Regions from separate parts of the Homo sapiens genome. Here regions 2, 3, 4, 5, 6 and 7 are each linked to region 1. Evidence: promoter capture Hi-C in 16 types of primary human blood cells and fetal thymus (Javierre and others, 2016). All regions are on one chromosome and are shown on one strand. Each heading gives the region's core, a stretch centred on a gene start or on the middle of the fragment in contact. The rest is flanking DNA. Distances are from core to core; before and after follow the strand shown.

Region 1 (3,275 bases), core at 159-2,658:
GACCTCAGTGTAAGTGAAAGATACTTGGTGCATGACCAGCCCTATTTTAAGGCTAATACAAAAATAGGCTCTAGATTTTTCTATTAGAACCTTTAAGGAAGGTGAAAAAAATTGATGTATTTGTCCCAAGATGATTAAGAATTTGAAACAGAAAAATAGATTATGTCATGCTTGAATATAAGTAAACTCTAATTGCTGAAATCTGTAATTAATATCTCATACATAACTTATAGAATTATAATTACATCTCCCCGAAAGAATTACCACTCTTCACAGCATTTAAGTTTTTGAATCAGTGTAAACAGTTTTAGGTCCACTTTGCAACACTCAAAAACTAACAGTTTGAAATTTGCACAACAGCCTAAAGAAAGAGGAACTGTCCTGGAATAAAAGAGAGTGGACAACTGGCAACAAAACACTCCTGAATGTGACAACGCACATTCTCCACAAAAGCTAAAACTAGAGAAATCGACACAATAACCATGTAACCCATATGCAATCTCAAAGGAACAAAAGATGAAATAAGTACTGTAATGATATGCCCCAGAAACACCGAAAAGTTTATTTCTTTGCTCTAAAATCGTGAGCTGATAGTTTTGCTCGGTACACTTGCATTGTTTCAATTAAAATGGTCAGTCCCGGGTATGAACTTCTTCGTTAGTTAGCTGAACAATGGGATCTCAAGGAACTACTGGCTTTTTATGAACGAATGCAGTGGTTTCTAGCACCTGCTTATTTTAACGTTTTGCTGTCATTTCATTAGCATCTCCCCTGCGGGCTGCGTGAACTCCGCAAATCACACATCCTACTGCCTTTCCCGGCGGCAGCCGCACTGAGTCACCGGCCCCGGACCCCGCCCTGCAGGGCATTCCAGCTGCTTCCAGCAGGACCCGTTCCGCAGGCCTGCGCCTCACTCTTGCTGCGCCAGGACTGCAGAGGGACATGGTAAAAACGGGGGCTGAAAGACCTCTCGCAACAGCCTTTTAGGACAGACTCAAAGCCTTCCTCCCTGAGTTTTATCTGTAGGACCGAAACAACAAAATCTCAGAGGAACCCACCAACCACAGCAGGCCGCAGCCGCGGCGACCCCGGCCCGCACACACTGCGCACGCGCGCACACACGCGCCCTCCGCCCGGTGGGGGTTCGCCCAGAGGTTGACAGAGGAAGGTGGGTGGGGGCCTAGAGCGGTGGGTCATGGCTGGCTGCACCCGCAAACTCACTCACCTCCGTAAACGGATCCATCGCCCCAGGCGTCGGACTACGAGACGATGGAAACGGTGGTTCAAATTCAGGAAGAGAAAAGTGAGTCTCAGCTCAGTGTGTCTCCTGGAAAAAACCAGGAGTCTGAGGCGGGGGAACTCTCCCACAACCAGCTGTCCTCTCCTCTCGGCTTCCAGTGACGGACTCGGCCTCTGCAGCCGTTCAAATTTGAATTTCAGCGCCGAGCCGCGAGCATGCGCGCTGGGCGGAGCCGGGGCGCCCTCTCCCCGCCCCTGCGCTCGGTCACGTGGCCGCGCCGGGCCGGGTGGTTCCCAGGGGCGGCCCCGCCTCCTTCCCGGCCCCCTCCCAGCCCTCGCCGCGGGGTGGAGGCGGGCAGCGGGGCGCTTCCTGCTCTCCAACGGCGTCGGGTTCCTGGCTCCACCCCCAACAACCACACATTCCCCTCAGCTTTAAGGCGATTGCTTCACACCAACCGCGTTTGGGTGTTCCCGCCTTCCTTCATTCCTAAATAAAGTATTAAGGCCGGGAGTAGTGGCGCATGCTTATAATCCCAGCATTTGGGGAGGCTGAGGCTGGAGGATCGCTTGAGCCCAGGAGGTCATGGCTGCAGTGAGCTGCGATCTCACTACTGCACTCCAGCCTGGGCGGCAGAGTGAGACCCTGCCTCAAAAAAGAAAAAAAAAGGATTAAGAGCCCTTGTGTTGGCAGGACATAATCCCAGCACTGTGGGAGGCCGAGGCGGGCAGATCACGAGGTCAGGAGTTCAAGACCAGCCTTGCCAACATGGTGAAACCCCGTCTCTACTAAAAATACAAAAAAATTAGATAGGCATGGTGGCGCGTGCCTCTAATCCCAGCTACTCGGGAGGCTGAGGCAGGAGAATTGCTTGAACTGGGACCCGGGAGGTGGAGGTTGCAGTGAGCAGAGATCACACCACTGCATTCCAGCCTGGGCTACAGAGCCAGACAAAGAGCCCTTGTGTTTCAGGTGCTGCTAGCCCGTTGGCCTTCAGTAGCTTTGTTTCCTAGGTCACACCCAACTCCTAGTCCCCAAAAGGGGGACTGCAGGCCTGGCCCTCAGAAAAGCCAGTTCCGGTGGGTCCCCGACACTCTAAGCCAATGAAATAAAGCTAAAATTAACAGACTGTGTGAAGCGTTCATGCACAATTTTTTATTTTAAATTCCATCCAACTGTGTACAGTGTTAGAGCGGGAGGAATTCTGACAAGCCCTCTATCTAGTTCAATCCTTCCTTTTACTGCCGAGAGAAGGGACACCCGAAAACGTTAAAGAAACTGGTCCAAAGAAATGAAAACCCTGTTCTCAGCTCATGACCCGTTTTCCACACTAGCTAAGGCTGTGTCTCCTGCTTATTCTTTGTAGAGTACTCCAAATTGTAAGATAGGTTACATAATTTCTGTATCAGATTCATTTCTTCTATAACAAGTCTGTGCAGGTAAAGATGACAGTTCTTGATTTGTTCATCTGAAAAGTTAAGAGTGACTGTCCATGAGCTGAACAAAACAGAACTATTCCTCCCAACTGAGTGGTTTCAATATGTTTAATAATATGTCCATCTTAGCAGTCAATCAACATTACAAAAAGAATTTACTAATATTTTTAATTTGAATTTTTGTATGATAAATTGTACGTGACTGAAATCACGGCAAGAGGTAAGGGAAATATTGCTTGGGGTCAGGGCTCCACCCAGTTAGCCAAATCGGTTAACCCATGGGTTTTTTTTTTTTTTAACCTTTGTGGGGAGTCATGGACTCCTTTGGAAATATGTTAAAACTGACCCTCTACCTAGAAAAATGACCATTTAATCATAAACTATTTAACAGGATTTTGTGAAGTTCATGGACACCAGGACAAGAACTTCTGATTTAGCCTGTTTGTATTTTAGTTTACTTATCTGTGTAACAGGAATAATCATCTGCCCTGATTTCCTCAGAGTTGTTAGGAGGGGCAGATGAAAAATGGAGAGACATAATCCAAAAATATTTCATAATAAGTAATAAGACACTGTCCGAGTGTGTAGTATATGGAATTATT
Region 2 (3,255 bases), core at 743-3,242, 960 kb before region 1:
CGGAGGCTAGAAGTCAGAGATCAAGGTGTTATCAGTGTTGGTTCCTTCTGAGGGCTTTCTCCTTGGCTTACAGATGGCTGTCTTCTCCCTGTGTTCTTAGGTGGTCTCCCCTCTGTACCTTCTGTGTTCAGATTTCCTCCTCTTAAAAGGATAATAGACAAACATGCTGTATTAGGGCCCGGCCTGAAGACCTAATTTTAACTTACTTCTTTCGAGGTCCTGTCTCCAAATACAGCTACATTCTGAGCTACTGGGGGTTAGGATTTGAACATACAAATTTTGAGGGGGACACAATTCACCTGTAACAGTTCTCATACTAAAGAGGCCTCTATCAACCTGAGAGGATTTAAGGATTTGAAGGAAGTCATTTAAACTAGTTAAGATTTAGTATCTTCATTAATTTACTGCAAATAATAACACCTGTCACTCAGGGCTGTGAAGAAGAGTGAGTAAAGTGCGTGTCCACGGTGCCCAGCCCCATGCCTGCTCTAGGCGCCTGTCTGCCACTCCTTCTGGCAGCTGTCCCCTAGCCTTCATGATGTCAATGCCAGACACTGGGAAAGCAAAGACTTTTCTCTGCAAGTTTCCATTATATTGCAAGCCAACCGTAGCTAATAGCACATTTCCCCACCTGTCAAGTAAATGGGCTGAATTGTTGCTGAGATTAGCATACATGGCTAGCGTGTACAGAAAATGAAATACTGAGCCTCCACACTGGATTCCATTCTCTGTTTATTCTCTTTCTGCTGAGTGCTTGCATGTTCTGTTCTGAACACACCGTGTTCCCTCATTTCTGAAGCCACAAACTTCCTCTTAGGCCCCGGGCTGTCTTCAGAATGGCCATCAGGTCCCTGATACGGGAACCTGAAATGACACCCCCACCATATACCCATCCATCCAGACCCTCCAGTGTAGGGCAGGTGGGGGGACATGTGCCCACCACTGCTGCTCCCATGGGAAACAAAGACTGGCTTCAGCAAACCTGGACACTCATACATCCTGAATAATGTCAGCTGACCACACCACCGACTTCATGTATTCCTTGACCTAGACACTAAAGGTATTGAGACAATTTCAGTCTGTTTGGCATAAGAAGGATGGTAGCACAAAGAAGAGAAGAGCAAAACTTTTACCCAAAGCCTATTTCGGTGGCCCCTTCTGAGGTTCAGTGTACCATGCAGGGCGGTGTTCTCAAAAGTGAAGACTAGGCCAGGTGTGGTGGCTCACGCCTATAATCCCAGCACTTGGGGAGGCCGAGGTGGGCAGATCACCTGAGGTCAGGAGTTCGAGACCAGCCTGGCCAACATGGTGAAACCCCATCTCTACTAAAAATACAAAAATTAGCCACGCAAGGTGGTGCCTGCTTGTAATCCCAACTACTCGGGAGGCTGAGGCAGGAGAATCACTTGAACCCGGGGGGCGGAGGTTACAGTGAGCTGAGATTGTGCCACTGCACTCCAGCCTGGGTGACAGAGTGAGACTTCATCTCAAAAAAAGAAAAAGAAAAAAAAAGTGAAGACTAGAGGGCTCCAGGAAGACAGCAGTGCCAAGAGGGAAGGGCTGCTTTCAGTGGGTGATCCTCCTGAAGCCCTTTCCCTTTCTGCCTAACCTAATGCAAGGGGAAAATGTGGTCTATGTCTTTTTCTATCAGAGACAACTCAACATTAAAAATATGAGATGAACAGCTCCCTTTCCACTATCCCCATCATCATTATAAACCCATTATCCATCATCAGTAGATAATGACTTAGCGGGACAGAGGACAGCTTTTCTGGTGAGGAAGGAAGGGGCTGAGGAGTGGAAGCAGATCGTTTCTCCAGCTGTTTGGTGTTTCTCTCCCATTGATCTGCCCTGGCCTCCACTGGCCCATCTGTTGGGCTTGTGAGTGCAGTAGGGGAGGGGACACACGGTTCACCAGGGCAAGTGTGTTCGTTTCCCCAACACACAGCTTCTACAGGAATGGCCATACAGGCTTAATTTTTTTCTCAGTAGGGTTTACTGTGCAACAGAAAGACTACAAAGAGCATTAAAAGGTTCAAAGCCATTGCAGTCACCCAAAACTAAAAAACTATATGGGAAATTCAGAAAAAACAACAAAAAGTGATCAGGTATTTGGGACCTTTGTGGAACCGAAAGAATTAATTAAGCTGTATGGAAAAACCTGTAGAGATGTAACAGATCTTTAAGAGACTACAGCAAGAGGCATGTTGAACTTGGGGCATAGAACAATGTGTAGAGAGATGAGTTTCTAGGTGGGAGTCAAAGCGATTTCTGTCTGTCGTCTTCAAAATGCCACCCAACCTACGGAGACATTTAGTGGAAGAGTGGGCTTGTTCACGGGTTATAGAGTCAGATGTTACTGCTATACAGACTTCAGTACCTAACTCTAGAAGAAGTGATTCCTCTTTATTTAATCCACTCAACTATAAACACACCACTTAACATGCATATCGAGGTGATAGAATCTTAATATTAAACATGGAACAATTCCCATATTTTTGGAATGGAATAAAGTCAAGCCAGCAGGCAAGCAGGAACGGTATAGCATTCTCTGCCCATTCTTTACCCACCACCTGGGATTTGATAGTGACTTTGGAAGGCATGATGATTAGAATGTCTAGCCACCTGCCTAGACTTCCCTTTTGTTTCTCCCTTTAATGGTTCTTAAATTTTAGTTTGTATAAGAATTATTGTACCCGGCTGTCTACACAACTTCTTGTAGCTGGTATTTTACTGGGCAATTTAAGTAATACTAGGTTATCTACTTTGGTAATTTTGATAACACTAGGCTCAGTACTGCTGGTAGCTCTAATGAGATGTTCATTGAGGAGGGGATGCATTCATACAACAGCTATGTATTAAAATGCCTGCCTGCCGCGGCCCTGAGTCTGTAACTGTGAATGCGATGTGGACCTTGCCCTTAGAGTACTCCAGATGTAGTGGGGAGAAGTTGACAAAGGGAGTCTAGTAACCCCAGAGTTATGCTGGGGGAAGCATAGGACACCAGGATGCTGACTTTGTTGGCTGAAGATTTTAGAATGTATTTCCTTCTCAGTTATGCCTCACCAAGAGGAGTTGGGCTTGTGTGCTGATCTTTCCTGGAGAGCCTGATGAGACCATGTGCCTTGTGTCCAGTTCAAGGATGGGATAGGTTGCCCTGATCATCGGTAATCTGCCTAGAGGATTTGCTAGCTTACCGCCTGTATTAGTCCGTTTGCATGCTGCTAATAAAGACATACGGGAGATTGGGTAATT
Region 3 (2,960 bases), core at 430-2,929, 800 kb before region 1:
TACACACACATCCCACATTTTATTTATCTGTTTATCAGTTGATGAGCATTTGGGTTGTTTCTAGTTTTAGTTATGATGACTAAAGCTGCTATGAACACTTCTGTATAAGTTTTTGTGTGGGTGTATGTTTGCATTTCTCTTTGTTCTGTACTTAAAAGCACACTGATTGTATCACATACTGACTCTATGTTTAACCATTTGAGGAAATGCCAGACTTTTCCAAAGTGCTTGCACCAATGTATATGCTCACCAGTAGCTTATGAAGATTTCAGTGTTTTCAGGTCCTCATCAACACTTGTTATTATCTGACTTTTTGCTGATGGGAGGGAATGGGAGGGAAGTGGTATCTCATTGTGGTATTGAGTTGCATTTACCAGATGGCTAATAATATTTGAGCATCTTTTCTTGTGCTTATTGGTCATTTTTATAACTTCTTTGGGGAAATGTCTGTTCAGATCCTTTGCTTGTTTGTTAATTGGGCTGTTCATCTTTTAATCATTGAGTTGTAATAGTTCTGTATGTTCTAGATACAAGTCCTTATCAGACATGATTTGCAACTTCTCACATTCTGTGGATTGCCTTCCCACTTTCTTGAGAGTGTCTTTTGAAGCGTGAAAGTTTTTAAATTTGATTTTTATTTTGATATATATCTAGTTTGTTTTTTATTTTTATTGCTTATGCCTTTGGTGTCATAACTAAGAAATCATTGTTCAATTCCAGGTCATGAAGATGTATACCTACATTTTCTTCTAATAGTTTTATAATTTTCACCCTTATATTTAGTTCTTTGATCCATTTTGAGTTAATTGTGTATGGCATAAGGAAGGGGTCCAACTTCATTTTTGCATGTGGATATCTAGTTTTCCTAGCATTATTTGCTGAAAACTGTTCTCTCTTCATTGAATTTTCTTGACACTTTTGTCAAAAATCAATTGACTATAAATGTGAAGGCTTATTTCTGGATTCTTAATCCTGTTCCATTGCTATATGTTTATTCTTATGTCAAGTCCACGCTGTCTTGATTATGGAAACTTTGTAGTAAGTTTTGAAATCAGAAAGTGTGTGTCCTCCAAATTTGTTAGTTTTCAAGATTATTTTGGCTATGGAGGGTGTCTTGAATTTCCACATGAATTTCAGGATTGTCTTGTTGATTTCTACGCAGAAGTCAGCGGAGTTACTGATAGGGATTGTATTGAATCTGTAGATCAATTTAGGAGGAGCATTGCCATCCCAGCTTAACAAGATAAAGCCTTCTAATTCATGAACATGGGATACCCATTGATTTATTTAGGTCATCTTTAATTTCTTTCTACAGTGTTGTGTAGCAGTTTTCAGAATATAAATTTTGTACTTTATCTTTTAAATTTATTCCTATTTCATTCTTTTGTATGCTATTATAAGTAGACCTATATAAATGATCCCTAAGAAGAGTACTTCAAATTTTCTGGATCAAAAATCTTGTCTGGCTTGAGCCATGTAACCATGTTGGCACAATCAGTCACATCTAGGGTTATGTGGTCCTTCCACGTTATATATATGGTATGTATATATATACAGTGCTGTTTCTCCAACAAAAGCTTGAATCTAGGGTGATCTGAGTGGGTTTACCATGCCCACTACAAGCCCCTGCCCAGAAAGTGGACCTTTGTTTGGAACTCAGTTATCACATAAATACTCATTTATTATTTTTTCAGGACTATTCATTTACTTTATGAAAATTAAAATACAATGTTATTTTTAACAAGTAGTAAATGGAAAGAATGAGTAATATTAAAGCTTTCATTTCTATAAATGATACTACTTAGACCTCCCTATTAAATATTCTGGGCTCAGTATCAAATTCTATTGTAATATCTTTGAAAAGCATAGAAGCAGTTTCTAATTTAAAACTCTAGCTAGCTGCTGCTCTGCTAAGAATAAAGATTGACCACAAATTCAACTTAATCTGTCGATCCTTTGCATTTAGGCTATCATATTTGATTCAGAATAACTCCGCTCTTTAAGACAGTTTTTAATGACGTGATGAGAGAGGAAATGCAAAATATTTTACATTAGCCTATACTCTATTTGTCCGTCTAGTTATAATAGACAGACTCATTATAAATTATGACTTCCTATTTCATAGATATGAAGATTAGTCAAATATGTAGAACAAGAGAAAAAAGGATAGCAATGAAGTAATTCGTGATGGACTTTTTTTTTTCTTTTGAGACGGGGTCTCACTTTTTGTCCCAGCTGGCGTGCAGTGGCATGATCATGGCTTACTGCAGACTCACCTTCCTGGGGTCAAGTGATCCTCCCACCTCAGCCTCCTGAGTAACATGCCACCACACCAGGGCTAATTTTTGTCTTTTTTGGGGGGTAGAGATGGGGTTTTGCTATATTACCCAGGCCAATCTCAAACTCCCAGGCTCAAGTGATCTGCCCACCTCTGCCTTCCAAAGTGCTAGGATTATAGGTGTGAGCCATCATGCCATGACGGACTTCATAAACATAGTAAAAGGTTTCAGCCAAAGCAGTTTGATTTAAATGGATGTTTTAATCCTTGGCTTGCAATAATTTTATCCTCTGGAAAGTATGGCTTTTCAGTCAACGTATTCACTTTTGGCCTTGACCGTGTAGAGCAATTACAGGAGCCCATATCAACAAGTGTCTTCAGTTGTTGCATTAGTGCCTGGAGCCAGAACACAAAGGTAGCCAGAGAGGGTGCCCCTAAACCGTGTCTCCCCACATCTCTGACTCTGAACCACACATGCATGGAGCCTACTCAAAGCAACCTAGCTATGGACAGAAGATCTCACTAAGACCAGACTTGTAGCCCTGGAAACAGTTTGCAGTTTGTGCACAGACAAGAGAACTATCTGCTAAAACAAAGGAAGCAACACTCATTGGAGAAAAAACAGAATCCAGAATCTTCACCACCTAACATTCATAATATCTGGAAAAGAATCCAAAATTCC
Region 4 (3,139 bases), core at 430-2,929, 860 kb before region 1:
CTCATATGATATGATGAAACTAGGCAGATGTTATAACTTTAAAGAAAAAGTCAAAAGAGCACAAATTTATATGAAGCAAAGGAATGTTGAGATGAATTGCAAATGAAGACACAACTAGTTTTCCACCAGTGGAAAGGAAGTCAATTAAATCACTGCCAGACAGGAGATATAGATAGATAGATAGATAGATAGATAGAGATATATATAGATAGATATAGACAGATATATACAGATATATATATAGATAGATATCTATCTATCTATCTGTCTGTTTATCTATCTATCTATCTGTCTCTCCATCAGTTACCTACATCTTAACAAAGCGTTGTAAAATAACTCAAAGCCAACAGGACTAGAATCTGATAGCCCAAAAGGATATGTTGTAGGCGCTGCTTAGTTTTCTACTGAAACACAAGATTTTGTTTTTTACAGATTTATCCAGTGTTCTCTCATCACAACAAACATTACAACAAAAATTTCTCTTTATGAAGACCCATATTGTATGTCTTTGGCTGGAATATAACAGATGGTTGTGATTTTTTTTCCCCCATTTCGTCCTGTTGATGGCACATGGTATCTCTTTGTTTTATTACTGGTTATAACTTTGACCACTTCATTAAGATAGCATCTTCCAGATGTCTCCACTATAATACTTTCTCCCTACCTTAGCAGCTAATTCATGAAAAGTTTGTAGGGAGACACAGTGAAACTATGTAAAGCCTCATTACCCCAATTTCACCCATCAGTTTTGGCATTGACATTTCTTATCTGAATTAATTATTGCTCTGATGATTTCCAAAGGAAAATTTTCTAATACTATGATTTCTTCTACATGTATTAGTTGGTTTTCTTTGGTAGTAAGAGCTCTGTTTTTTCCCTACGTATTTATTCACCTACATGTTTATCTCCAGTGGGGAGCTCATACCAGCTCCTGAGAGCCACTTTTGTACAACTCTGTTCTGCTCTGCGTTCATTGACCTCATGTTGGTTCTTTAAGTTGGCCATAGTGAGAGTCGTTACACTGTGGAAATCGGAAAATAATATCAAGCAGATTCGTGTGTTTTTCCCCAGAGATCTGGTGTTTCAACATCAGCACATCACTCTATAACAATGTGGACTAATTCATTCCTGTTTTATTCAGTGGGTTTAATCTATCACTATTATTATTGATTTTGATGCTCAGCGTGTCCCTGATGTGGCCTGTGGGAGCTCTTTCAAGCTGACTTCTGTGTCCTTTTGACCTGTATTGCGTTATGTTTTGAGCATTTCTTTACTTTCTGGCTCAACAAGATGTTCCAGAACTATCTAGATCTCCTTGCCCCACCCCTAATACGAGCCACTTCCCCAAGGAGCCCTGGTTCCTTTTAGTGGAGAGTAGCCTCTGGCCCTTGCGTGCTGCCAATTTATGCTCAGGCCTGCCTCCCCGTCTCACCCTTTCACCCTGCCCAATGCCTTTTTGATGAAGGAAGGATGGGAAATAGTAAATATTTTTTAAAAGAAAGGCAGGTAAAGGAGGGGGAGCAGAAGAGGAATAAAAATATCTCTTTATATGCATTTTTAATCCCCCTCCCACAAATTTTACCAGAGACTAAATTTAGTCTTTGCCTGGTGATTTGGATTTCTGAAATGGTTACATTTTATGTGGTTGAGAATGTGAAAATTTCTGAAGAGCAAAATCGTTTGTCAACCGTGTATTCAGTCCCTACTCTGGATGTGCCTCACATTACGCTATTGTCACAGTGCAGAGTCCTAGCCCTCAAGCAGCTAGAAGGACAGTGAGATGTCCTGAGGCTTATAGCTGATGTGTCCTCAGGGCCTGTGGCCTGCGATGCAGGCACCATCTATGCTGTCTGAGGAAGAGAAATCAGAAGTCAGAGAGACTTCCTAGAGGACCCCAGAATGAGCCTAGAATGAGATGAGTTTGGGGGTAGGACTTAGCGAGTTGGGCAAAGAGGGGATGGATGTTTCATAAAGAGGGAAGATCATACTTAAAGCCAGAGAGATTTGGCAGACTTGAGGAATGAGAGATGGTTTGGCCAGTTTTGAAACACTTGTTTCTTCATATTCTTGAGCCTAGTTTTTTTAAAAAAGCATAAGTATCCTTTATTATAGCCAGATTTGCCTATTCTAAGCCACCAGCCCAGAGTTCAGTTTTGGGATTTAACACTAGTGCAATGTCTTATTGCAAAGAGATTGATTGCAGCATCTTCCCACAGAAGAAGCCACCTGAGAGAGAAAAGAGAAAGTAAAATTAGTGGACATTCTACCAAAGAAAGATAATAAAATATTTCTTTATAGTCTAGTGGTTTTTGTCTCAATGTTTTTTCATTTAAAATGTATCAATTCCTATCCCTATGGGTACCCCACCCCGCTCCATTGAACACAGACCCATTCTGATCTAAATGGACGGTTTTGGATGCCTTTACTCATAAGCAAATGCAACTGGTTAATGACAGTAGTTTAATGCTGATCTTTTGATTGTTTGTTTCTGATCATTAAAGAACACCAGTTTATTACTTTGAATGATGTCTTGAAATGGATAAAATTCTTTTACTTCATGGCAGTTAAATCTGTCCTAAATCTAATCCTGAGTTTTCTTCAAGATATGTTCTTTGTGTAAAAATTGTTGCTTTTAAGTATGCTCCTCACATGGTTGTTTTTAAATTTTGCAGGCGATACCAGAAATTGCAGAAGATCATGAAGCCTTGGTAAGAATATTTGATCGATTGATATTGATGATTTAACCCTTCCTACTTTCCTGCATAATTGAGCCCTGTCATCTGACTGATTGTATAACTATGCATCTAGTATTTTGAATAAGTGATTTTTTGTTATTTTTGTTTTCTATTTGATGTTCTTTTATAAACAACTTCTTCAAAAATGTATTTTCCCCCCTTTTTTTGCTTTGGAGTAGAAAGAATATTTTATGTATGTAACCACTAAGTGATGCTGTAACCACAGAAAGATTGCTACCCTACTTCTGGAGCAGTGCTAAGCATAATTTTATGTATTATTTTAAACAAAACTAACTTTTATGTGGCCTGTGTGATGTTCAAAGTCAAAAGTCTTTGATTTTCTTCAGTGGCTTAGAAAGAAAACGGATTCACATTTTTAAAAGTATCCAGGATTGAAGGATGCA
Region 5 (2,874 bases), core at 238-2,737, 980 kb before region 1:
TTTCTTTTAGAAGTTTTCTCAATCAGATAAGGGAACTTAAAGAGAGAGCCAGTCCTGGTGCTTCGAATAGTAAGGAGGATCAGAAGGAGTAGGGAGACGTCAGAGGGAGACCTTGAGGCTGCTTCATTAGTTCAGCATGTCAAAGCACCATATTTCAGGGCGTTTTCTGAGCCCCACCATTGAAGATATCTTCTCTCAATATGTGGTTTCTATTTTTTTATTAAAATTTTTTTGTTATATTTTTTCTTATCAAACCTTTGGATAAGCAGAAATTCTTAATTATATTGTAGATGGATTGGTCAGTCTCTTTTTTTTTTTTTTTACATTTTGGGCTATATATAGCTTGCTTAAGAAATCCTTCTTACCCGTTGGTTATTAGGATATTCTTGTATCCTAAGATTTTCTGAGATGTCTGTTTTTCTTTTTCATTCAAATAGTTAATCTCTGGAATTGTTTTGTTTAATGTGGATTGTAAAGTAGAGGCTGATTTCATTTTGCCCCCTACATTGTCCCCATGCCACTTATTAAATACAGGTTGAGTATCCCTAATCTGAAAATCCAAAATTTGAAATGCTTCAAGATGCAAAGCTTTTTGAGTGCCGACATGACACTCAAAGGAAACGCTCATGGAAGCATTTCAGATTTCAGATTTTTGGATTAGGGATGCTCAGCCAGTAGGTATAATGCAAATACTACAAAACCTGAAAGAATCTGAAATCTGAAACACTTCTGGTCCCAAGTATTTCAGATGAGGGATTTTCATCCCTTCCATCTCCCCCAGCCACTGGTCTGCACTGTCACTTTTGGCACATATCAAGCTTCCATATGAGTGAAAGTCCTCCAGACTATAAATGTTACATAACCTTGTTGACATCTTTATAATATTGGGCTCTCTTAATCTTAAACTTTATATGTTTATCCGTTTATTTTGGTGTTCTTTAATGTTTTTCAATAACTTTTATTGCTTTATACAGAAATATCTTGTAAAATGCCGAGAGGGAAAGCTTCTCCCTTCATCTCCTGAAGGTTTGCTGAAAATATACTGACAAAAGGCCAATGAAAAGGAGAGAAAGGCATACAATGTATTTAATGTGCACAATGCAGGGAATCACATGAGAATGATTTACCAATAGCCCAATGTAGTCCAGATGCTTATATACCCTTCTATATGTGGGAGAGAGGAGACAGAGAATGTGCAAATAAGTAACAAAGTTCCCCTGAGCTCTGAGGGAGGTGTCAGGAAGGTGAGGGATGGAACTTCACTGTGAGCAAAGGTCATCTTATGCAGATAAAGCCTCCCAGGTAATCTATGAGAGTTGCCCTTAGGAGAATAGATGAAAAGCCTGTCCAGATGTGGTGATCTTCTTTTCCTGGGTGGTTGATCTTTTTGGGCTATTTGATGAGATTCCTAGGGAGTGGGGTCTTAAGAAATTCCAAAGAGAGTCCCTCCCGGTTCTTTGGGAAAGAAGATCAGAGACAGGGAGGTGGAAGCAGGTCAGAGAGAAACCTTGGTTCTGAGGCTTATTTCTGAGGCTTTTCACTTTTCAAAGCACTTAGCATGCCAAAGCTCCGTATTGTGATGAATCATTTTCTGCACTCCAACACTATCTTCTTGTTTTATTATTATCATGAAATGTATATTTAAGACATAGTTCTTTCTGATGCTTTGTTCCTGGTGTATAGAAATGCTAATCACTTTAATATATTGATTTATACTCAGAAACCTTGATAAAGCCTTATTAATCCTAATAGTTTCTGATAGACAATAATATCATCTGAATAATGAAAAATTTGCCACCCCCCTTCTTAAAATGTTTAGAATGAGATTTCCAGTACAATATTGAATAGAGGCAGTGATATTTGACTTCCTTGCCTTGTTTTTGATTTTAAAGGAAAAGTTTGATGGCTCACAGTTGAGCATGATGATTGCTATAGACTTTCTGTAGATATCCTTTAGGAAGGAAGCTTTCTGCCATTCCTAATTTGCCTACGTTCCTAAGATGCTTTAAAAAATTATGATTGACTTGTGTATTGGTCCTGTTTGGCGATAGCAGAAAGGAGTTACATTTATTATCCGTGATTGTTTTCGATGTCTGCCATGGATATTAGTGGGGAGGGAAAGATAGGAGGAGGTAATATATGCTTATTATATACTTATTTTCTGATTGCTTTATATGCTATAAAATAATTTCATGCAAATTACCTCATTTGGGTTATTGTTTCCAGTGTCTTTTGTTTGTTTGTTTGTTTGTTTGTTTCTGGTAGGGACTTAGAGGATTCTGATTCCATAACTGTGGCTGGTCTTATGCCCACCAGTTTTTCCTACCACACACGGGTGATATTCAATTTGCACTATGCTTAATTAACCTATTCTTTCTTCCTTAGTCTTCTCTAGTCTTCCATGTCACACACTTAGTGAATTGTACCTGTAGCCTGTTATTTTTCACTGTACTCCTGAAGAATTTTCTTAAAGTAACTAAGAAATCAATGGTGCCCTTCCATTCTGATCCTTTTCTTCCTTCATTCACTTATTCACTTGCCAGATATTCATTGATAGCATACTATGTGACCACAGGTAAAATGGTGAAGAAAACATCCCTGCCCTCATAGAGTTTACACTCCAGAGTGGAATTAGGACAATAAACACATAGACCGGTGTGTAACATTGCAAGGTAGTGATGCGGTGAGTAAAGGAGTGAGTGGGAGAGAGAAAGAGAGGGAGGGATTACTGGGAATGTGTGTGTGCCAATTTTACTGGCATTAGGTTACCTAGGAAAGGCTTCCCTGAGGAGATGACCTTTGGTCTGAGTCCCAAATACAGTGAGAAAGTCAGCTGCGGGAAGTTCAGGAACAGCAGATGAATGACAGTGTGGT
Region 6 (3,004 bases), core at 25-2,524, 830 kb before region 1:
GCTATGACAAGAATTTTTGGATTTTATTTTGCTTTTTCATTGCCAAGGATTTTAAACCTCAGTGACTAAACATGAGGGGTTCTGGTTTGTTTTCCATTTAGAATTTCTTATTCATCCCTGGGGGGCTGTGTTTGCACAAGTAGTGGTGTCACTTTATAGTTTCCTGGACGTTTGATTTGGTGTTCGCTGGAGCCAGGTGGAGGTGCCTGCCCTCCACAAGCCTGTGCTAGGGGCAGTCTTACCGTGGCTGGATTTTTAGGAGTGGCTTTGCAGATCTGAGGTGAAATCATCGATAGGGCTGCTTCTGTGATATTTTAGTCTAAATACCGAACTCATAACTCCCAAGCAGCCCGGAAGTTGTCTGGAAGCTCTCACCGTGTACATACCCAAGCTTGACTTGGGCATTGGAGCAACGGGGTCCTTCTGCTGGCCAGACTGGGGACTTCTGGCCCAGCCACATGGTAGCTGAGTGTAGCGTGTGGGGTCAGGAAGGTTGCATTCTGATCTCAACTCTTGGAAGTTTCCTTTCCCCATCTGTGAAAGAAGAGGATGGATTAGAGGAGGTGAAAGTTCATGCCCACTCTAAAGGCCATTTCACTTGGATCTCTGAATCTAGACATGAGTAAAATGCTTACTGCATCTTATTTTATACCAAACACTACTGTTCATTTGTTAAATTGGACTCTCATGACCATGGACAAATAGGGAATCAGGTGTCAATCTGTACTAACTTCAGGACATTGATAATAATGGTAATATAATGGAATGTCGATATAAGATTAGGTTTGGATTTTGTGAATCAAGTCTTTCTTTGAAAACTATGCAACATAAGACTGACAGGAGACAGTTTGGCTATATATTATTCTAATAAACCACCACAAAGAGTAATAAACCATGACAAAGAGTAGTCTAATAACCTTAAACCATTTAAGAAAAGATTCCAACTAAGAAAGACTGTATATAATTCAGCAGAAATTTATGAAGTATTATATGACTCATTCATTCAAGCTCTAAAAAATACCTACAAGGTATTTAATTTACTTGCCCATGGAAAAGTGATGTGGACTTCATAAACTATAAACTCTTGAAATTAAGAATGTTGTTCATCAAAATAAAGGGAGTATCATGATTTTTAAATTTAAAAAAATTTCAGTGAGTAGCGAGATAGCTCTAAAAAGGGATTTCAGATTCATAATGAAGAAAAGTTTGTTGGATATTATTTTCTGAAGGTCAGTAGAGGCCTGTAAAGCAGAAGACTGAGCTAACTGGTGACATCATGTGGGTTGCTGTGGATTTATATTAACAGCTGAGCTTGTATGCCTTAGTCTGGGCTCTATGTTCTAAGTAAAATAAAGTTTCAGCTGGTCTGAATTTGACGTTGGCATTGTTATTGGCGTATGTTCTGAAAAATTAAAAGTTCTGAATTTTTGGCAAATAGGAAAATTGACCAAAGTCAGCCATCAATGATAATATTATTGAGAGTCTGGCATGTGCCAAGCAGTGTTCAGTGTTTTATATTACATTATTTCATTTTATTCTCATATTCAGAGAAAGCCACATTATTTCTGTTTTATAAGTAAGGAAATTGAGCCTCAAAGGGAGTAAAGAACTTGACCAGGTTACTGAGCGGGTAAGAATCAGAGTTCGAGTCTCAACCTTATCCCTGCTTTTACCTGCAAAGCATCCCATCCAACGCCTGTCAGAGATGTCACTCATAGAATTCTCCTGTATTTGCCAAGTAAACAACTCCCCGAAGCCTGGATAGCACCAAGCCCATTTTCTCACTCCAATTAGATTGAAATATAATCTAAACATGTATTTACTGGATTTGCAGGAACACTATTTTTTGTTTGTTTTTTGTTGTATCTGTTTAAAGCCTTAGAACCATTGCTTTGTTTGGAGTAGCCTGATTCCACTTCAGTCAAATACTTTTTTAAAATTTCATCTTTTTTTGACTTGGGGCCAGACACATTCACAGGACTCCATTATCTGGGGTTTCTTTGAATTTGGAATGCTTTTAAACACTTATACCTTATTTCTGCTGTTACTGAAAAAAATGCCACCATGGTCAGAAGGACCTGTGCTGTTTTTTCCTTTGCATCTGTGAGGTAGGCCTTACTGAGAGAGGCCTGTGCTGGGGCCTAGGGTAAAGCTTCCTCCTCTGGGAACTCCCTTCCCTTCTAGGGTTCCCCCAGGGGTGGAGGCCTTGCTTTCCCATGCCTCTGGGATGTAGGAGATTCTCAGTTTCCTGGCACAAACGGAGGGAAGGGCTGGGCTAGTTTTGTCGGGGAGGAGGTTGCTGTTAGGCGGGCAAATGGATCCTTTTGCTTACAACTTTTACCATTATTCAGTTCACTATTTCAATGGCAAATATGTTGGTGAGATCCCTTCCAAATTTCTCTACAAATACTTATACTTTTGATAAGCACTATTTAAAAAACTTGTTAGTTAAAAGATTTGGTAGAAAAATCAGAAAATACTGACTCAAAAGGAAGAAGTTTGAAAGATTCCTGTAATTATATTCCCAGAGGCAGAACCACGGCAATTATTTACAACTCTTGTGACTTTCATGGTGCTACTTCCCTGTTTGTTCTGTGCAAATATTCTCCTAATACATCATTTTTTTTCACCAAATGTGAGCATACTACATGCATTGTAGTTTTTCTAAACTTCTTTTAAAACTAAACAATATTTTGTGGACATCTTTCCATGTCAGTATATCTGGATTCATATTTGTAGCTATCTATACTTTTACATAATTTTAATGCTATAAAATATTCCCCATGGATTCTCACATTTACTCCAATAATTCCTTACTATTAGACCAAAAAATGGAGGCATGGATATTTCTATTTTCTCTTTGACCAAGCTGCTGTTCCTTAGGAGGGTAGTATAAAATATTTATTTGTTATTTTATCAAACATTTATTGTCTTCTCGGTGTCAGACATTGTACTTTGGGCTTGGAATACAAAAAAGAAAAAGACAGTTTCTGCTCATGAGGGA
Region 7 (3,120 bases), core at 474-2,973, 810 kb before region 1:
CTAGCTAAAGGATTGTAAATGCACCAATCAGTGCTCTGTGTCTAGCTAAAGGTTTGTAAATGCACCAGTCAGCATGCTGTCAGAACAGACCAATCAGCACTCTGTAAAATGGACCAATGCGCTCTCTTTAAAATGGACCAATCGGCAGGATATGGGCGGGGCCAAAGAAGGGAAAAAAAAGCAGGCCACCTGCGCCAGCAGCGGCAACCCCTTTGGGTCGCCTTCCATGCTGTGGAAGCTTTGTTCTTTTGCTCTTTGCAATAAATCTTGCTGCTGCTCACTCTTTGGGTCTGTGCCGCCTTTATGAGGTGTAACACTCACCGCGAAGGTCTGCAGCTTCATTCCTGAAGTCACCGAGACCAGGAACCCACCAGGAGGAATGAACAACTCCAGACATGCCGCCTTTATGAACTGTAACACTCACCGCGAAGGTCTGCAGCTTCACTCTTGAAGTCAGCGAGACCACGAACCCACCAGAAGGAAGAAACTCTGGACATGTCCGAACATCAGAAGGAACAAACTCTGGACACACCATCTTTAAGAACTGTAACACTCACTGTGAGGGTCCATGGCTTCATTCTTGAAGTCAGCAAGACCAAGAACCCACCAATTCCAGACACATTTTGGCCACCCAGATGGGACCATCGCCCATCGCCAGGCGGTGAGACTAATGCCTATTGCCAAATGGTGAGTACCGTCGGACCCCTTTTGCTTGCTATTCTGTCCTATTTTTCCTTAGAATTCGGGGGCTAAATACTGGGCACCTGTTGGCCAGTTAAAAGCGACTAGCGTGGCTGCCAGACTAAAGACACACGTGTCAGGCTTTCTGGGAAAGGGCTCTCTAACAATCCCTGACTCTTCGGAGTTGGGAGCGTTGGTTTGCCTGGAACCAGCTTCTGCTTTTCCTGTACTTCTGGGCTGAGCCGAGGGTCGACAGAGAGGAAAGCCATTCAGCTCTGGGATCCCAACAACAAGTTGGTTGACCCTGCAGCCATGAGCAGAACTCTCAAAGGCATGTCGTCCAAGCAGACTCGCCCATCTATCCTATCTATTCTGACCCTTGCCGCCTGGGTCCTAATGCCTGCCAGACAAACTTCCTCTCGCCTCTCTTCTCTGAGGCTAGTCCCACTTCTAAAAAACCACTCCCTGTCTCTGGTGCTTTTCTAGTTTCTCCTATAAGAATTATTTCTAGTATAAACTCCAGGACTCTGTTACCTTCTTTAGGTGCCCGGGCTCACCAATCAGAAAGATGTAATTTTTGCCCAAAGCCCCATTGTAGGGGGACTATCTGGAATTTTAGGATCCCTCCTCAGACAATCAGGCCTAACAAAAGCTATTCCTGAAGCTAGGATATGGTGAGCCTCAGAAATTGTATCCTTCCTATTCATATAAGTGAGGACAAAAGACATCACTCTTCCAACTCTGGAGATCCCTTCCCTCCCTCAGGGTACGACCCTCCACTTCATTTTTCGGGCATAACATCTTTATAGGACATGGGTAAGGTCCCAATACTAACGGGAGAATGCTTAAGACTCTAACAGGTTTTCGAGAATGTGTCAGTAAGGGCCATTAAATACAATTTTGCTCAGTCCTCTTTGTGGTCTAGGAGGACAGGCAAGGGTCCAGGTTTTCGAGAATGTGTCAATAAAGGCCACTAAATCTGACCTTCTTGGTCCTCCTTGTGGTCTGGGAGGAAAACTAGTGTTTCTGCTGCTGCATCAGTGAGTGCAACTATTCTGATCAGCAGGGTCCAGGGACCGTTGTGGGTTCTTGGGGAGGGGTTGTTTCTGCTACTGCATTAGTGAGCACAACTATTCCGATCAGCAGGGTCCAGGGACAGTTGTGGGTTCTTGGGGAGGGGGAGAAACAAACCAAAACCATGGGCGGTTTTGTCTTTCAGATGGAAAACACTGAGACATCAACAGGCTCACCCTTGAAATACATCCTAAGCCATTGGGACCAATTTGACCCACAAACCCTGAAAAAGAGGTGGCTCATTTTTTTCCTGCACTATGGCCTGGCCCCATATTCTCTCTCTGATGGGGAAAAATGGCCACCTGAGGGAAGTATAAATTACAGTAAGAAGGAAAAGCTAAATAATTTCTACAGATCATTCAGTACTGCTCAGTAGTACCATGTTGGAATTCACAGGGGAAGTATTATAACTTACTGTGTTTCAATTCATTTATTTTAAAGCCAGAAACTGCCTTGAAATGGCTGCTATACCAAAATACCGCATCCCCAAAACCTGGTGAATTCTCAGAAAAATCATTCTAGGTGAAGAGAAGCCAGTCTATGGTGGACTTGCCTTATATTTCAGCACCGATCCCAGTGTGATTTTATCATAGGCTTTCATCACTAAGAATGTGGTGCAGTCTCTTGGAGTACAAGGACAGCATTAGTAAGAATCTAGAATACATTTATGGGAATTGGAGAAATTAAATTTTGACATTCACTTAATTTTTGTGGTATTCTCTTTTTGCCACAGAGCATCTCTGGAAAGCACAAGATAATGCAGGTTTTTGTCAATCGAATCACTTTTCCCTATATCCCTTATTAATAACTGGGATAGTATTCTGAAACAAGTACTTTGCTTTCAAATACATTTTAGATTTAACCCATAAACCTAAAAGTAAAATAACAGTATATTTAAAAACACACATTTACTGAAATCTTATACAGTTATAGCTATATAGAATGCAGGAGGTCCCGGGGTGCTCTGCAGGGAAGCTCTGCCAGTCCTAGCCAGTCCACCAGACCCAGTCAGCCCCTTTCACCTGAAGGATCCTTGGGGGACATGGGTAAAGGGATTACCTGGGATGGTTCAGGCTGCATGAACTCACAGAGATGTGCCTGTTCCTCAGGGACCAGATCTTACACTGTCAGCCTCCTTGACACTTTGATCAGACCGGACTCTCTCTTTTCCTATCTGAAATGCTGCAGACCTCAGTTCTAATAACTTCTGAGGCATCCCTGGCCCCAACAAGCCAGGAAATTCCTTAGTGAACCAGAGCAGAAATAGCCACCAGATGGCGCAAACACACAGCCATTGGCTCTCAGCCAGTCCCCTGAACTCTGGCTGACCAGCTGCTGGGACATTCTGTTACGTTGCAACCCTGC

The links. Contacts are between HindIII fragments. The CHiCAGO score rates a contact against its expected background, and 5 or more counts as called.
Region 2: a fragment that was not itself captured here is called in contact with the fragment with the promoter of ANLN in region 1 in 1 of 17 cell types (total CD4 T cells); the score reaches 6.6 in total CD4 T cells.
Region 3: a fragment that was not itself captured here is called in contact with the fragment with the promoter of ANLN in region 1 in 5 of 17 cell types (total CD8 T cells, fetal thymus, naive CD8 T cells and 2 more); the score reaches 9.1 in total CD8 T cells.
Region 4: a fragment that was not itself captured here is called in contact with the fragment with the promoter of ANLN in region 1 in 1 of 17 cell types (naive CD8 T cells); the score reaches 5.2 in naive CD8 T cells.
Region 5: a contact is called between a fragment that was not itself captured here and the fragment with the promoter of ANLN in region 1, in 2 of 17 cell types (naive CD8 T cells and total CD8 T cells). The highest score is 7.0, in naive CD8 T cells.
Region 6: a contact is called between a fragment that was not itself captured here and the fragment with the promoter of ANLN in region 1, in 2 of 17 cell types (naive CD8 T cells and total CD4 T cells). The highest score is 6.3, in naive CD8 T cells.
Region 7: a contact is called between a fragment that was not itself captured here and the fragment with the promoter of ANLN in region 1, in 1 of 17 cell types (naive CD8 T cells). The highest score is 5.1, in naive CD8 T cells.

The regions. Positions count from the first base shown.
Region 1 is chr7:36,387,995-36,391,269 of GRCh38, reverse strand. ANLN (anillin, actin binding protein) reads right to left here and starts at 1,408. Exons shown (of 24, transcript NM_018685.5): 1 at 1,226-1,408. The coding sequence starts at 1,243. It also overlaps a transcript of MATCAP2 not described here. RefSeq lists enhancers at 582-1,172, 1,173-1,763 and a silencer at 1,354-1,763. The HindIII fragment of the contact is 7,726 bases long and covers 1-3,275 here.
Region 2 is chr7:37,347,706-37,350,960 of GRCh38, reverse strand. All of the region lies in intron 1 of ELMO1 (engulfment and cell motility 1), which reads left to right. Among named protein-coding and RNA genes, the nearest start is that of ELMO1, 100 kb to the left of the region's middle. The HindIII fragment of the contact is 4,249 bases long and covers 1-3,255 here.
Region 3 is chr7:37,184,146-37,187,105 of GRCh38, reverse strand. The region is part of intron 13 of ELMO1 (engulfment and cell motility 1); the gene reads left to right. Among named protein-coding and RNA genes, the nearest start is that of ELMO1-AS1, 190 kb to the right of the region's middle. The HindIII fragment of the contact is 199 bases long and covers 1,580-1,778 here.
Region 4 is chr7:37,243,925-37,247,063 of GRCh38, reverse strand. It overlaps ELMO1 (engulfment and cell motility 1), which reads left to right. Exons shown (of 22, transcript NM_014800.11): 7 at 2,673-2,708. Among named protein-coding and RNA genes, the nearest start is that of ELMO1, 200 kb to the left of the region's middle. The HindIII fragment of the contact is 3,776 bases long and covers 1-3,139 here.
Region 5 is chr7:37,367,121-37,369,994 of GRCh38, reverse strand. The region is part of intron 1 of ELMO1 (engulfment and cell motility 1); the gene reads left to right. Among named protein-coding and RNA genes, the nearest start is that of ELMO1, 80 kb to the left of the region's middle. The HindIII fragment of the contact is 961 bases long and covers 1,007-1,967 here.
Region 6 is chr7:37,218,347-37,221,350 of GRCh38, reverse strand. All of the region lies in intron 10 of ELMO1 (engulfment and cell motility 1), which reads left to right. Among named protein-coding and RNA genes, the nearest start is that of ELMO1-AS1, 220 kb to the right of the region's middle. The HindIII fragment of the contact is 1,761 bases long and covers 394-2,154 here.
Region 7 is chr7:37,201,676-37,204,795 of GRCh38, reverse strand. All of the region lies in intron 13 of ELMO1 (engulfment and cell motility 1), which reads left to right. Among named protein-coding and RNA genes, the nearest start is that of ELMO1-AS1, 210 kb to the right of the region's middle. RefSeq lists an enhancer at 1-778. The HindIII fragment of the contact is 2,965 bases long and covers 241-3,120 here.